Linked DNA regions of Homo sapiens: regions 2 and 3 are each linked to region 1. Evidence: promoter capture Hi-C in 16 types of primary human blood cells and fetal thymus (Javierre and others, 2016). All regions are on one chromosome and are shown on one strand. The core of a region is centred on a gene start or on the middle of the fragment in contact, and the rest is flanking DNA. Distances in the headings are between cores, read along the strand shown. Region 1 holds the start of MFNG (MFNG O-fucosylpeptide 3-beta-N-acetylglucosaminyltransferase). Region 2 has its middle 2.0 kb from the start of CYTH4. Region 3 overlaps LOC105373024 (a long non-coding RNA gene).

Region 1 (4,012 bases), core at 533-3,032:
ACCGCGGTGATGGAGATAAGACAGGAAAGGGCCGTGGGCCACGTGAGGCCACGCTCCCGGGTACACAGACGCATAAACAGGAAGGCCTGCGGGAGGGCCCGCCTTGGCTGCTTCCGCAGGAAGAACCAGGATCTCCCCAAGATGAGAAGCCGTGTGGGGCCCAGAGAAGAGCTGAGGTGCTGGGGGCCAGCTGGGGAAGAGTTAATCCCAAGTACGAGGGCAGAAATCAGGGCAGGGTGCCCCTCCCCAGGAGGGCCTGGCCTCTGCCAGCCATCCTCTCCCCCTCCTTTTGGTCTTCCAGGAGGTCTCGACTATCTCCAAAGACTCAGTCACTTCCTCCCACTGAGCCAGCCGCCAAAGAGGGGACCGATGTGTGTGTGTGTGTGTGTGTGTGTGTACCCATTCTCCACCTCCCCCATCAACGGTCCCTAACACCGACATCACTAACTTTGCTTAAGGAAGATACTGGATGCGAGGAGGGAAAGGGCTGGAAGGGACTTGGCTCGCCGGAGCCGCACAGCCATGTGACAGACATGCCTCTTGTCACACACATCTAGCACACTCCAGCTCCGTGCGTGTGAGCACACACACACACACACACACAATCCCACGTGCCAGGCAGGCCTCCCCAACCTCCGGCCCACCACTGCCTCAGCCGCCACCCTCGTGGCATGCGCTCTCCTTCCCTCCCTCGGAAGCAGTCCGCAGGAAGCCAACACAGGAGGCCAGACATGGCGGCCTCGGCACACCCGGGGCAGCAGAGACACAGCGGCAGGGGCTATCGGGAAGGCCGAAGGGATGCCTCCCCCAAGAACAGACCCCACCATTCTCCTCCCGTCCTCCACCCTCAGAGCCCGGGCAGGACAGCACCTAGGGCCTGGGTGGGACAGCCTGGCCTGGGCACGGGTCTGGGTCAGGACCTCTTGGAGGCCTCCACCCCAGCTGCCCAACACCCACCATTACCCCTGATGCCAGGCTGGGCCTGGGTGGCTAGGAGCGAAGCCCCCACGGGAGCGGCTAGGAATAGAAGAACCCCCAGGAGGGACCCGGGAGCCTGGAGCAGGGGCCCAGCCTGGCCCCCAAAAGTGGTGGAGCGGTAGGACCTGGGTGCACCTGGAGTCAGGACCAGTACAGGGCACGGGCAGGGCCGCAGGCAGCCCCTAAAGCCCGGAAGAAGGAGAGAGGAAGAGGATCCCTGATTAGGCAGGTATTGAGCAGCTTCTCCCATGAGGCAGTCAGGGACCCCAGCCCAGTAGAAAGGCCTCTGAGAACCCCTTAGGCCAGGGGCCACCCCCAGGGCCCAATGTCACCCACTTGTCACCTGTTCCCTGGTCCTGGAAACCCACGTGTCAAGCAGCAGCTCCAGGCGCAAGCGGTGGAAAGCCCGGGTCGTCTTCACTGCAATGAAGACATCGTGTAGCTGTAGCTTAGGGGGCCCCGGGTTCGGCTGGCTCAGCTCGGGGGTCCCTTGTACCCGCTGCGGGGACAGGTTCAAGTGGTACCGCAGACACAGGAGCCCCATGCACAGGAGGGTGAGGAGGGCTCCAGCCAGGCCCCGCGGGAGCCGGCACTGCATTGGTTGGCCCTGGGACCCCAGACAGCTCAGCCCCCAAATCCCAACCAGACAGGGAGGGGAAGCTGGTCAGGCAGGGGCTCCAGCAGAGGCAAAAGTCTGGCAGGCATCAGGGGCTGGCAAGGAGGGAAGAGGTAGGAGCTGAGGCTCTGGACCCAGAGGCTGAGCCATGGCAGCACGATCTCGACCGCCGCCAGTCCTCCACCTGCTCCCGCTGTCCGGCCTGCCGCAGCCTCCGGGACCGCCTGGCCCCGCCCCGCTTAGCCCGAGGGGCGGGGCCAGACGAAGGGAACCCCAGACAGAGGCGGCTGAAAGGAGGCACCAGCAGAAAGGGCAGCCCCGGCTCTGCCAGCTGCTGCGGTGGGAGGAAGTCACAACAAACCCTCCGTGCCCGGTGGAAGGGAGTGTCCTCCAGCACCGTCCACTCCCCCAGAGAGCTGTCAGCTCGGCCCATTCAACACCCATTACTTTGGTGTCCTGCTTCACCCAGCCCCCAGCTTTTGCTCACAGGTTTCCTCCGGGATGCTCTCCCATATTCCACCAGCCTCACCCACATTCCCTCCACTAGGCTGAGTTCTATCTGGACTTCAAAGCTTAAGGGTTCCCTCCTCCAGGAAGCCTTCCGTGATAACCTCTTAACCTCTGGGGCTCCCACAGTTGTTCGCTCAGTTCCTGAGGTCTTCACAACAGCACTGGGACTGTCGTTCCCAGTTTATAGCTGAAGACATAAGGCACAAAGGCACAGAATGAGCAAAAACGATCCAGCAACTCAGCCGCAGAGCTGGCAGAACCCAGGTCTCTGTTCCTCATCTAGTTCACAGGAGGTCCCCTGAGGGCACCTGTCCAGCTGTGCCCCAGCCCATACCCGACCTCACTCCGCAGTCTCTGGAGCTGCCTCTCTCCCAGCACCTGACCAGTGGACAGACAGAGGGCCTTCTCCAGCCACCACCTCCATCTTGTTTCGCACAAGCTCACTCACACCTCCTCCCTCCTCCACTCAGAGCCTGCACTGGCTCCCATTTTCTTCAGAACAAAAGCCAAAACGCACACAGCAGCCCACAAGGCCCTGCGTGAGCTGGCTCCCAAGTTACTCCCACCCCATCTCCTGCTACTCACCCTGCTCCACTCCAGAACCTGGGACCCTCGCTGGCCCAGGCACCTGGCCGCCACAGGACCTTGGCACTTGCTGTTCCCACCTGGGCCCCTCCCTAGAGACCTGCACGTCTCACTCCCCCACTCCCTTCTGGTCTTTACACAAAGGTCACCGTCTCTGTGAGGCCTTCCCTGACCACGTTATTAACATTGCAACCCCTCGCCGCCTCCTTCCCAGCCCCCCAGGCCTGTCCCTCTCAAGCCACTTCACTGTTTTCTTCATCACACTTTTCATCTTCCAACATTCTGTATGTTTAACTAAGTTTCTGTCCTCCTCATGAGAATATCAGGGCAGGATTTATTTTTTGATCACTGAGTCCCTAATCCCCAGTGCCTAGAACAGTGACCGGCAGACAAGAACTCAATCAATGTTAATTCAACACAACAAAGTACCAGGTGGCTGGCAAAGGGAAGTGGCCCTGCCGGGCTCAACCCTGCATGAGGACAGCTGGGGGAGAGGAAGGGAAAACCAACCCTTTGAATGACCTTCTCATGGGCCAGCCCCCAGCCAGGCCCCTTCACAGGCCATATTCTCAGAATGGTGATGATGCCAGCCTTGGTGATGATCCCAGACTCTGTACCCCACAGACCAGGTTTAAATCCTGACTGGGGGCTGGGCGCCATGGCTCACGCCTGTACTCCCAGCACTTTGGGAGGCCAAGGCAGGCAGATCACTTGAGGTCAGGAGTTCAAGACCAGCCTGGCCAACATGGTGAAACCCCGTCTCTACCAAAAATACAAAAATTAGCTAGGCATTGTGGCAGGCACCTGTAATCCCAGCTACTAGGGAGGCTGAGGCAGGAGAATCACTTGAACCCGGGAGGCAGAGGTTGCAGTGAGCCGAGATGGCGCCATTGCACTCCAGCCTAGGCAACAAGAGTGAAACTCCATCTCAAAAAAAAAAATTCCCAACTGGGCCACTCACTGGCTGTATGACTCTAGGAAAGTTACCTTCATCATTTCTAAAATGGGGACAAAAATATGACTTGGTGACGATTACAGGATGAGTGGGCTTCTCCACCCCACAGAAAGGATGCTTGACACGGGGAACAGGCAAAGGCAGCCAAGTCACAGGCCCCTGCCTTTCCCCAGGCCAAGCACTGGGCCAGGCTCACTGTGGGGCAGGGGGAGGTTCATGTACCCAAATGCACACAGCCCAGTTTCCATGCCCAGGAAGCCACAGACATCGAGAGACAGCCACACAGACACCCTCGTCCCACCACAAGGCAGAATATGGCATGGGCCAGGAGAAGTCCCAAGGGCTGGGAGGACCTGGTGGTGGGTTTC
Region 2 (4,012 bases), core at 1,513-4,012, 210 kb before region 1:
AATTCTGAGCTTTTGGACAAACAGAAGATGTTACCCAGATGGTTTTGCTATTATTTGATTCAGATGCTAGACCCTTCCTATCTCTCCCTCAAAGGAAGTGCAGGGAGTGGGGAGGGCAGGTCGGTGAACTTCTGAAATGTTTAAAGTGACGCTTGTACAAGCTGAGTGTGGGGATCTGAAGTCAGACAGTTCAGGGCTTGAATCTGAACTTTGCTTTCTCCTGGCTGCGTGACCTTGGGCAAGTGATTTAACCTCTCTGAACTCAGTTCCCTCATCTATGAAAGAGGGGTTGTAATAATGTAATTTGTTGAATGGTGGAAAGGGTTAAATGAGATGACAAGCACTTAGCACAGTGTCTGGCACTCCATAGCAGGCACTCCAGAAATAGCAGTGATGGTTTTTTTAGGACCTCCCAGATCTCGTGTTTGGAGACTCTCATTTGTTGTCCCAGAACCAACTGCGGATCCCCTGCCTGGTACACAGGTGGGAACCAGAGCCTGATGTAGCGCAGAAGGACTGATCTCAGGCCAGAAAGTTTTAAGGGGATTCCTTCCCGTTTTCATCCTTCCTCCTACCTGGAATTTAGACATGATAGCTGGAGATCAAGCAGCCACTTTGGACCATGAAGAGAATTTGAGGACAGCAGCCGAAAGTTAGAAGGATCCTGGATCCATGCCCAGGCTGCTACAGGGCAGCCATGTGTTGCCCACTTCAGGTTTCTTTCTTGTAAGAGATCAATAAACCTCTAGTTTCTTTAAACCATTATTATTATTTGGGTTTTCTGTTTCATGTAGGCAAACCTAACCTGAACTGTCTCCATTTTGTAGATGATTTTAAATGATTAAAAATGAGGCTCGGAGGGGAAGGAAGAAGATCACACAGCTCACAAGAGCTGAGTCAGGATTCAAATCCAGTTCTCTGTGACTCCCCTGGGTCCAGCTTCCTGCTCTCCTCATTGCCTGTGCTATTGGTTCCCAGCAAATCTTGCAGCCAAACCTGGACAAGGAGTGACGGAGAAAATGATGAAGTCAGTTCTGCTAAACTCTTTGCTGCTCACAGTGAAAGAGTCCCTCCCTCCCAGGCTGTCTGCATATAAGCCGTTAAACATGACCAGCGTTGTGGGAAAGAGGGAGGGGAGGTGTCATCACAACGGACCTCACAGAGGAGGTGGTATTTGAGGTATGTCTTAGAGAATAAGACAGTAACAATAGCTGAACCACACAACCGTGACCATCCATCAGACAAAAGGGAAGTGTCAGATGCCAAACCGTGGCCTGGTCAAGACACATTTACTGGATCAGCCGCAAGATCAGGCAGCCTTCCCCAAGGCCATCCCAGGTTCAGTGGTTTACTAGGTGGACTCCCAGGACTCAGCTCATGGTCATACTTACGGCTATGATCTATGGCAGTGAAAGGACTCAAAGCAGAATCCGCAAAGGCGCCGTGGCGAAGTCCAGAGGAAACCAGGGGCAGCTTCCAAGAGTCTGCTCCCAAAAGAGTCACACGGGACACGCTCAATTCCTCCAGCAACAAGTCGTGAAAGCACCTGTGAGATGGGATGCTGCCAGGGACGCTAGGCAAATAGGTTAGGCCCAGTAAGCCACTCTCATCAGTTAGGGTGGTGGGAGCCCTCCCCAAATCCAAGCTCCCAGGTGCCAGCCAAGGGTCAACTTTGCAAGCATGACTTTCTAAAGATAGCAGTCTCCGGCCTGCAGTGTGAAGTCTTTCTGCACAGGGAATTATATATACCTTTCTCCATATTTCTAGGGGTTATTTTGTTTGTTTTGTTTTTTCTTTTGTTTTGTTTTTGGAGACGGAGTCTCACTCTGTTGCCAGGCTGGAGTGCAGTGGCGCGATCTCAGCTCACTGCAACCTCCGACTCTCTGGTTCAAGTGATTCTCCCGCTTCAGCCTCCCAAGTAGCTGGCATTATAGGCACCCGCCACCATGCCCAGCTAATTTTTGTATTTTTAGTATAGACGGGGTTTCACCACGTTGGCCAGGATGGTCTTGATCTCCTGACCTTGTGATCCACCCGCCTCGGCCTCCCAAAGTGCTGGGATTACAGGCATGAGCCACTATGCCCAGCCCACATTTCTAGTTTTAAAATGGCCAAGGGCATGGTTTGTGGTGCCTCAGGCCCAAAGCAGTTGAGAAAAATCTAGTTTACCATGGAAATAATTGTAACAAGTTTTCCAGAAAAGAACCATGAGTTATACAAGAACCCAGGTGGAGGCAGGGCAGGGGAGAAGCAGCGGGGTTCAAAAATCCTGAGCACACTAGACGGGGACTTAGTAGGCCTGGCTTCTGGGCCTGAATTGGCACTCACTCAAGTTCCAACTTGGTCAAGTGTTTCCCAGAAATAAGCCTCAGTTTTCTCTCCGAGGAAATGACAGCATTGGATTTCTTCTGTATCAGCAAGCTTTGGCTGCATAACAAAGCATCCCAGAAGTTGGTGGCTTAAACCACAAAAATGTATTATTTCCCACAGTGCTATGGGTCAGCAGTTTGGGTGGGACTCCGCTTGATGGTTCTTCTTCTGGTGTCCCCTGGCCTCACTGATGAGGCAGCAACCAGGGGACAGCCAAGACAGCCCAGCCTATCTCCTTGTGGTCCTCCGTCTTCCAACAGGCTAGCCCAGGCTTGTTCTCATGGTAGCCAGGCAGGGGGCTGAGAGCAAGAGCAGGAGCTGCAAGGCCTTTTAAAGCTCAGCCTCGAACATCACGGCACATCATTTCTGCCACGTGCTATTGGTCAAAGAGATGCCCAAGGCCAGCTCAGCTTCCAAGGAAGGAGAAATGGACTTCGCCCCTTGACAGCAGAAGCGGCGGCATAGTGAAAAGGAGGTGAACTTGTAGCTAGCTTTCACATCGGCCGTGATCTCTTCCATGTTCCCTTCATTCATTCATTCATTCATTCATTTGTTCATTCATTCCACACTTGCACACCCTCTATGTCCCCAGCATTTTACCACACACCAGAACACAAAAGGTAACCTTGCCCTCATGGGGCCTGGAGAGTAATGGGGAAACAGATGAATAACTCTGCATGTGTCCTGAAGTTATAGGGAATTCACATTTAATTTATACCTGTTTCTTTACAGCAAAGCTTTTTGCAGAAAGGATTTGAACCAACCTGCCAGAAAAGGCACAAGGAATAACATGATACATTTTAACCAAAGAAGATAATTAAAATCAAAGGAGAAAGTGTTTATTGAGCACCTACTATGTCCCAAGCATCTCCGACACATCCTCTCACTCCATGGTTTCCATATCCCCGAGTTAGTGTTATTCCCCTTTCAGAGATAAGCAAAGCGAGGCTGACTAGCCCTAGCTGAGAGTCAAACAGCTGAGTCAGGCCCCAAAGTTCACATGACATCATAGAATAGCTGTCGATGAGCTTTGGATTTGACGATGAGTTTCCCAGCAGCCTGGGGGAGAAGGAAAGTGGAACATATTACCCGATTGTTCACTAGACAAGAAAAAGCCAGATATTTCTTTGAAGGGAAGCAAAGCCCTTCCTAGCAGTGAATTCATTTGTCTCTTCTCAAGTGGGAGTTGGAAGAGAGCTTGTGGGGTGGAACACAGGGGGCCCTGCTAGGACTGTCCAAGTTGGGCGCTCCTATGGCATATATGTGAGGAGGCTGCCACGTGAATGCCCATGGTCCCCTGGAAAATGTTCGTCCTCAGTGAACATCGCCCTCGGTGTCTGTGCATGTGTACGTGTGTATGTGCATATGTGTCTGTGTGTTTCTTTCTGTCTCACTGTCTTTCTCTTTTTTATCTGGCCCTCCCCTCACTTCATCTGTTTGTTTGTTTGTTTGTTTGTTTGTTTCCACCTCTGTCCCTCCCTGGCAAAAGTCCCTGCTGCTCAAAACTCTGCCAGTTTTTAGGAAGTGCTGTTTTGTCAAAAGCCTGCACACGAGACCCCCGTGGGCCAGGACTGACTTCCTCCCCACACAGGGCTGGGCGGGGCAAGCAGGAAGGAGCCTGTTACAGTCAAGGTGACGCATC
Region 3 (4,012 bases), core at 663-3,162, 160 kb before region 1:
TGGGCTGGCTTCGTGGTCTGGGGTTGCCAGGCTCAAAGTTTTTGTTCGGCTGCTGAACACCAAGGCCTACAAGCCCTCTCCTTTTCCATCCCTCTCAGCTTCTGTACGGGGGCCTCCAGCCCCATCCAGAAATGCCCTGGCCTAAAAAAGCACCCTGCCTGTTCTTCCATGATGAAATCAAAGGTCACAGACATTCAGGCACACGCCCTAAGTCACCCAGCACGGAGGCTCCATGAAGAAGACCGAGGCAGAAGGCGCCGGCATTTGTAGAACATACTTCATCTCATCTGATCCTCCCAGGAGCCCACAAGGTAAACAGGATTATTCCCATTTAACAGATGAGGACGTGGAGGCTCAGAGAGCTTGTGACTTGCCCAGAGTCACACGACCAGGAACAGGCATCTGATCCAATTGCTAAGGCCAGGAGGAGCCACCAGCTAGAAGGCTCCAGCAGAAGGGCAGGATTAATTCTGTGACCTTTCCAGTCCCTGTGATCCTTTGAGGCTAAAGCTTAACTCTTCTCTTTCTCCCTCCCCCAAGGGATTTTCAGTTCATAAATAAGAGCCCAGAGGGGACCAACCTTTGATCCAAAGAAATGATTTTTTCAGAAAATGTCCCCCATTTAAAAATTAATAAAACATGCTCATTGCAGAAAATTGGAAAGCGCAATGAAGAGGAAGAAAAACTTAGACCAAAAAACAAATGAGATCATGTCCTCTGTTGCAACACGGCTAGAGCTGGAGGCCATTATCCTAAGCAAACGAACATAGACAGGAGCAGAAAACCAAATACCGCATGTTCTCACGTATAAGTGGAAGCTAAATAATGAGGACACATGAATACTAGGAGAGGGACAACAGACACTGGGGCCTTCTGGAGGGTGGACAGTGGGAGGACGGAGAGGATTAGAAAAAAATACCTGGTGGGTATTATGCTTATTACCTGGGTGACAAAATTATCCGTATACCAAACTCACATGGCAGTTTATCTATATAACAAACCTGCACATGTATCCCAATCCTAAAAGTTAAAAAAAAACCTAGACCAAGAATTCCTCTACCTGATAATTTTGTAAACATTTCAGAATATTTCCAACACACCTGTTATGTCTCTGCAATGATACTGCAAATGCAGTTTTGTAACCTTAAGCCAATTTTTTTTTTTTTTCTGGAGACAGATTCTCGCTCTGTCCCTGAGGCTAGAGTGCAGTGGCACAATCTCAGCTCACTGCAACCTCCTCCTCCCAGGTTCAAGCGATTCTCCTGCCTCAGCCTCCCGAGTAGCTGGGATTACAGGCATGCACCACCACACCCGGCTAATTTTTGTATTTTTAGTAGAGGCGGGGTTTCACCATGTTGCCCAGGCTGGTCTCGAACTCCTGACCTCAAGTGATCTGCACGCCTCGGCCTTCCCAAAGTACTGAGATTGCAGGTGTGAGGCACCATGCCCGGCCTAACACTTAAGCCTTAAAACTATGAAATCCGGATGTCCACGTGTATACCAGCCAGGACAGGTTAGGTTACACTGTGGCAACAAATATCCCCAAATCTCAGTGGCTTCACACACCACAAGAGGTTATGTCTTGCTCACACCCTATGCCCTGGGATTGCAGGGTAGGGATCGGCATGGAGTCTCTGCTTATCATAGTCACTCAGGGACCTAGGCTGAGGAGGTGCCATCCTGGCATGAATTGCCAGGAGCGCTGTCTGGATGTGACATGCCACTTCCGCTCACATTGCATTGGCCAAAACATGTCACATAGCTACCTCACTGCAAGGCCAGATGAAATACCATCCTACCACCGGCCATGCAACATGGGAGGACAGTAATACTTGGGGTGTGGCACTAGTGCCGATTATAGCTAGGGTGACCAATTGTCCCCATTTTCTCAGGACCAAGGAGTTTTCCAAAATGCCGGCCTTCTTGTGCTAAAATTGGGAAAGTCCTGGGCAACCCAGGAGGACTTGTCTGCTCCTATTGTACCACGTTGTGCGGTCTTTACACACTCACTTTTCAAAACTGCACAGCAGCCATCTTTTAGATGAACCAAGGTTTCTCTCCCCAGTCCCCTATTGCTGGAGACTCAGACTGTTTCCAGTATTCCATGTTTATAAATACATTGTCTTAAATACCTCCATGGATAAAACCATGTCTACTTCTCAGTGGCTTCTCAGAGGTGCCATTGGTGGCCGTTTACAGGCTCACAATACCTGTTATCCATAGGTAATTCAAAAAGGTTGAAACAATACAATTTGCCTTCTGCAGCGAAAGCACGTACCTGCTTTCCTTACCTTCTCCTGGAGCCCAGAGCAGTCATTCTCTAATTGTAGCCTCCAGCTCACCTGGAGAGCTCCTTAAAACAGATTGCTGGTCCCTAGCGCCAGAGTTTCTGATCCACGGGGGCTGGGATGAAGCCTAACCTTTGCGTTTTTGTGTGTGTGGTTTGTTTGTGGGTTTTTTTGTTGTTTGTTTGTTTGTTTGTTTTGATGGAGTCTCGCTCTGTTGCCCAGACTGGAGTGCAGTGGTGCAATCTCGGCTCACTGCAAACTCCAGCTCCCGGGTTCAAGCGATTCTCCTGCCTCAGCCTCCTGAATAGCTGGGATTACAGGCGTGTGCCACCACACCTGGCTAAGTTTGTATTTTTAGTAGAGACCGGGTTTCTCCATATAGGTCAGGCTGGTCTTGAACTCCCGACCTCAGGTCATCCACCTGCCTCAGCCTCCCAAAGTGCTGGGATTACAGGCATGAGCCACCGCGCCCGGCCAGATGCCACCACTTTGCCACCGAACAGGTGACCCTGCTCAGCTACTCACCAGAGGTCTAACCTGGAGCAAATTATGCAATTAGCCTCTCTTAGCCTAGGTTCCTATCTGTGAATTGGAGCAGTTGGGAGGATGGACTACCAGGGTAACCATGAGTTCAGTTAAAAATAGTTACAGTTATTCAGCGGTAAATTAAATAACTTTATGTTTTAAAATATTTGTGAGTTTGAATGGAACTGCATTGATTAACATTTGTATTCCTTTCATATCTGAGTGGGAATGGACTTTCTCCCTGTGAGGGTTAAGCATTTGTGTTTCCTTTCTAGTGTGAATCATCGCTCCTGCCCTTTGCCCATTCACCTGCAGGTTTCTCTGCCTTTCCTCTCCGTCTGCCTGGGATCATTACAGAGCAAAGATAAACCCCCATGGCCGTTCTTGATTGCTAGAGATTTTTCCAAAGCTGTTGCTCACCTGTCTGCTGGGGCCATTTTTCTGGCTTACAAAGTGGCCGAATCCATCTGACTTTCCCATTTTTATTTTCTCTATCACTTTTAAGCTTAGATTGGAGCCCTTCTCCAGAATGTGACAATATAAAGGAAATGGATTTTGAATGATGAGATTTCCTGCACCTTGAGGGGTGGTGGGGGTGGGGGATCCTGGCTCAACTCAAACCCTGTGGTGGTGATAGAAGGCATAGTCAGAAACCAAGAGCCCCTCAGCACCAGGACAACCCACCACCCTCAGCTCTCCTCGACATTAGCCACGCTGTCTCTCTCCCCATTTGCAGAGTCCCCCCGCAGAGAGGCACAGGGCAGGCCAGAGCTGGATGCGCGGCTGGAAGGTCAAAGGCATCATCCTCAGGTTGGAGACAGGATGACCGAAGGTGTAAGAACTGGCCAGAGGAGTTGGACAACTCCCAGCTCAGGTCTCTCCTCGACTGCTTTGGCCGTGTGAGCTTTGCCTCTCTGGGTCTCTGTTGTCTCATCCATAAAATGGGCCTGACCATGCCCAAGTCAACGGAAGGATTTAAATAGATCAGCGCCCTGAGGTCGGTGCTGGACGCCGAGTACACGCGCCCAGTACACAGGGCTTGAGCTCATTACACGCCCCAGTTCTGTTCCTGGGGTGGTGGCGTGAACCCCACTGCCTTTGCCTTTAATTGCACTGAAAATATCCAGCACCGCTGATATCAAGGGCCCAGGTCCCGGCGGAAATGAACTCCCAGACTTGGGCGCCCAGGTTTCCGTGCG

Evidence for each region. The method cuts DNA at HindIII sites, captures the fragments that hold promoters and counts their contacts. A CHiCAGO score of 5 or more calls a contact.
Region 2: a contact is called between a fragment that was not itself captured here and the fragment with the promoter of MFNG in region 1, in 7 of 17 cell types (non-activated CD4 T cells, naive CD4 T cells, fetal thymus and 4 more). The highest score is 9.2, in non-activated CD4 T cells.
Region 3: a fragment that was not itself captured here is called in contact with the fragment with the promoter of MFNG in region 1 in 6 of 17 cell types (endothelial precursors, non-activated CD4 T cells, fetal thymus and 3 more); the score reaches 9.3 in endothelial precursors.

Annotation. Positions count from the first base shown.
Region 1 is chr22:37,484,602-37,488,613 of GRCh38, forward strand. It overlaps MFNG (MFNG O-fucosylpeptide 3-beta-N-acetylglucosaminyltransferase), which reads right to left and starts at 1,783. Exons shown (of 8, transcript NM_002405.4): 1 at 1,322-1,783. The coding sequence starts at 1,576. RefSeq lists enhancers at 668-727, 1,128-1,177, 1,654-2,163, 2,164-2,675, 2,676-3,185 and 2 more and a silencer at 1,748-1,877. The HindIII fragment of the contact is 3,313 bases long and covers 1-2,164 here.
Region 2 is chr22:37,278,480-37,282,491 of GRCh38, forward strand. No RefSeq gene overlaps it. Among named protein-coding and RNA genes, the nearest start is that of CYTH4, 2.0 kb to the right of the region's middle. RefSeq lists an enhancer at 3,788-3,837. The HindIII fragment of the contact is 686 bases long and covers 2,420-3,105 here.
Region 3 is chr22:37,320,712-37,324,723 of GRCh38, forward strand. All of the region lies in intron 1 of LOC105373024 (a long non-coding RNA gene), which reads right to left. Among named protein-coding and RNA genes, the nearest start is that of CYTH4, 40 kb to the left of the region's middle. The HindIII fragment of the contact is 2,808 bases long and covers 509-3,316 here.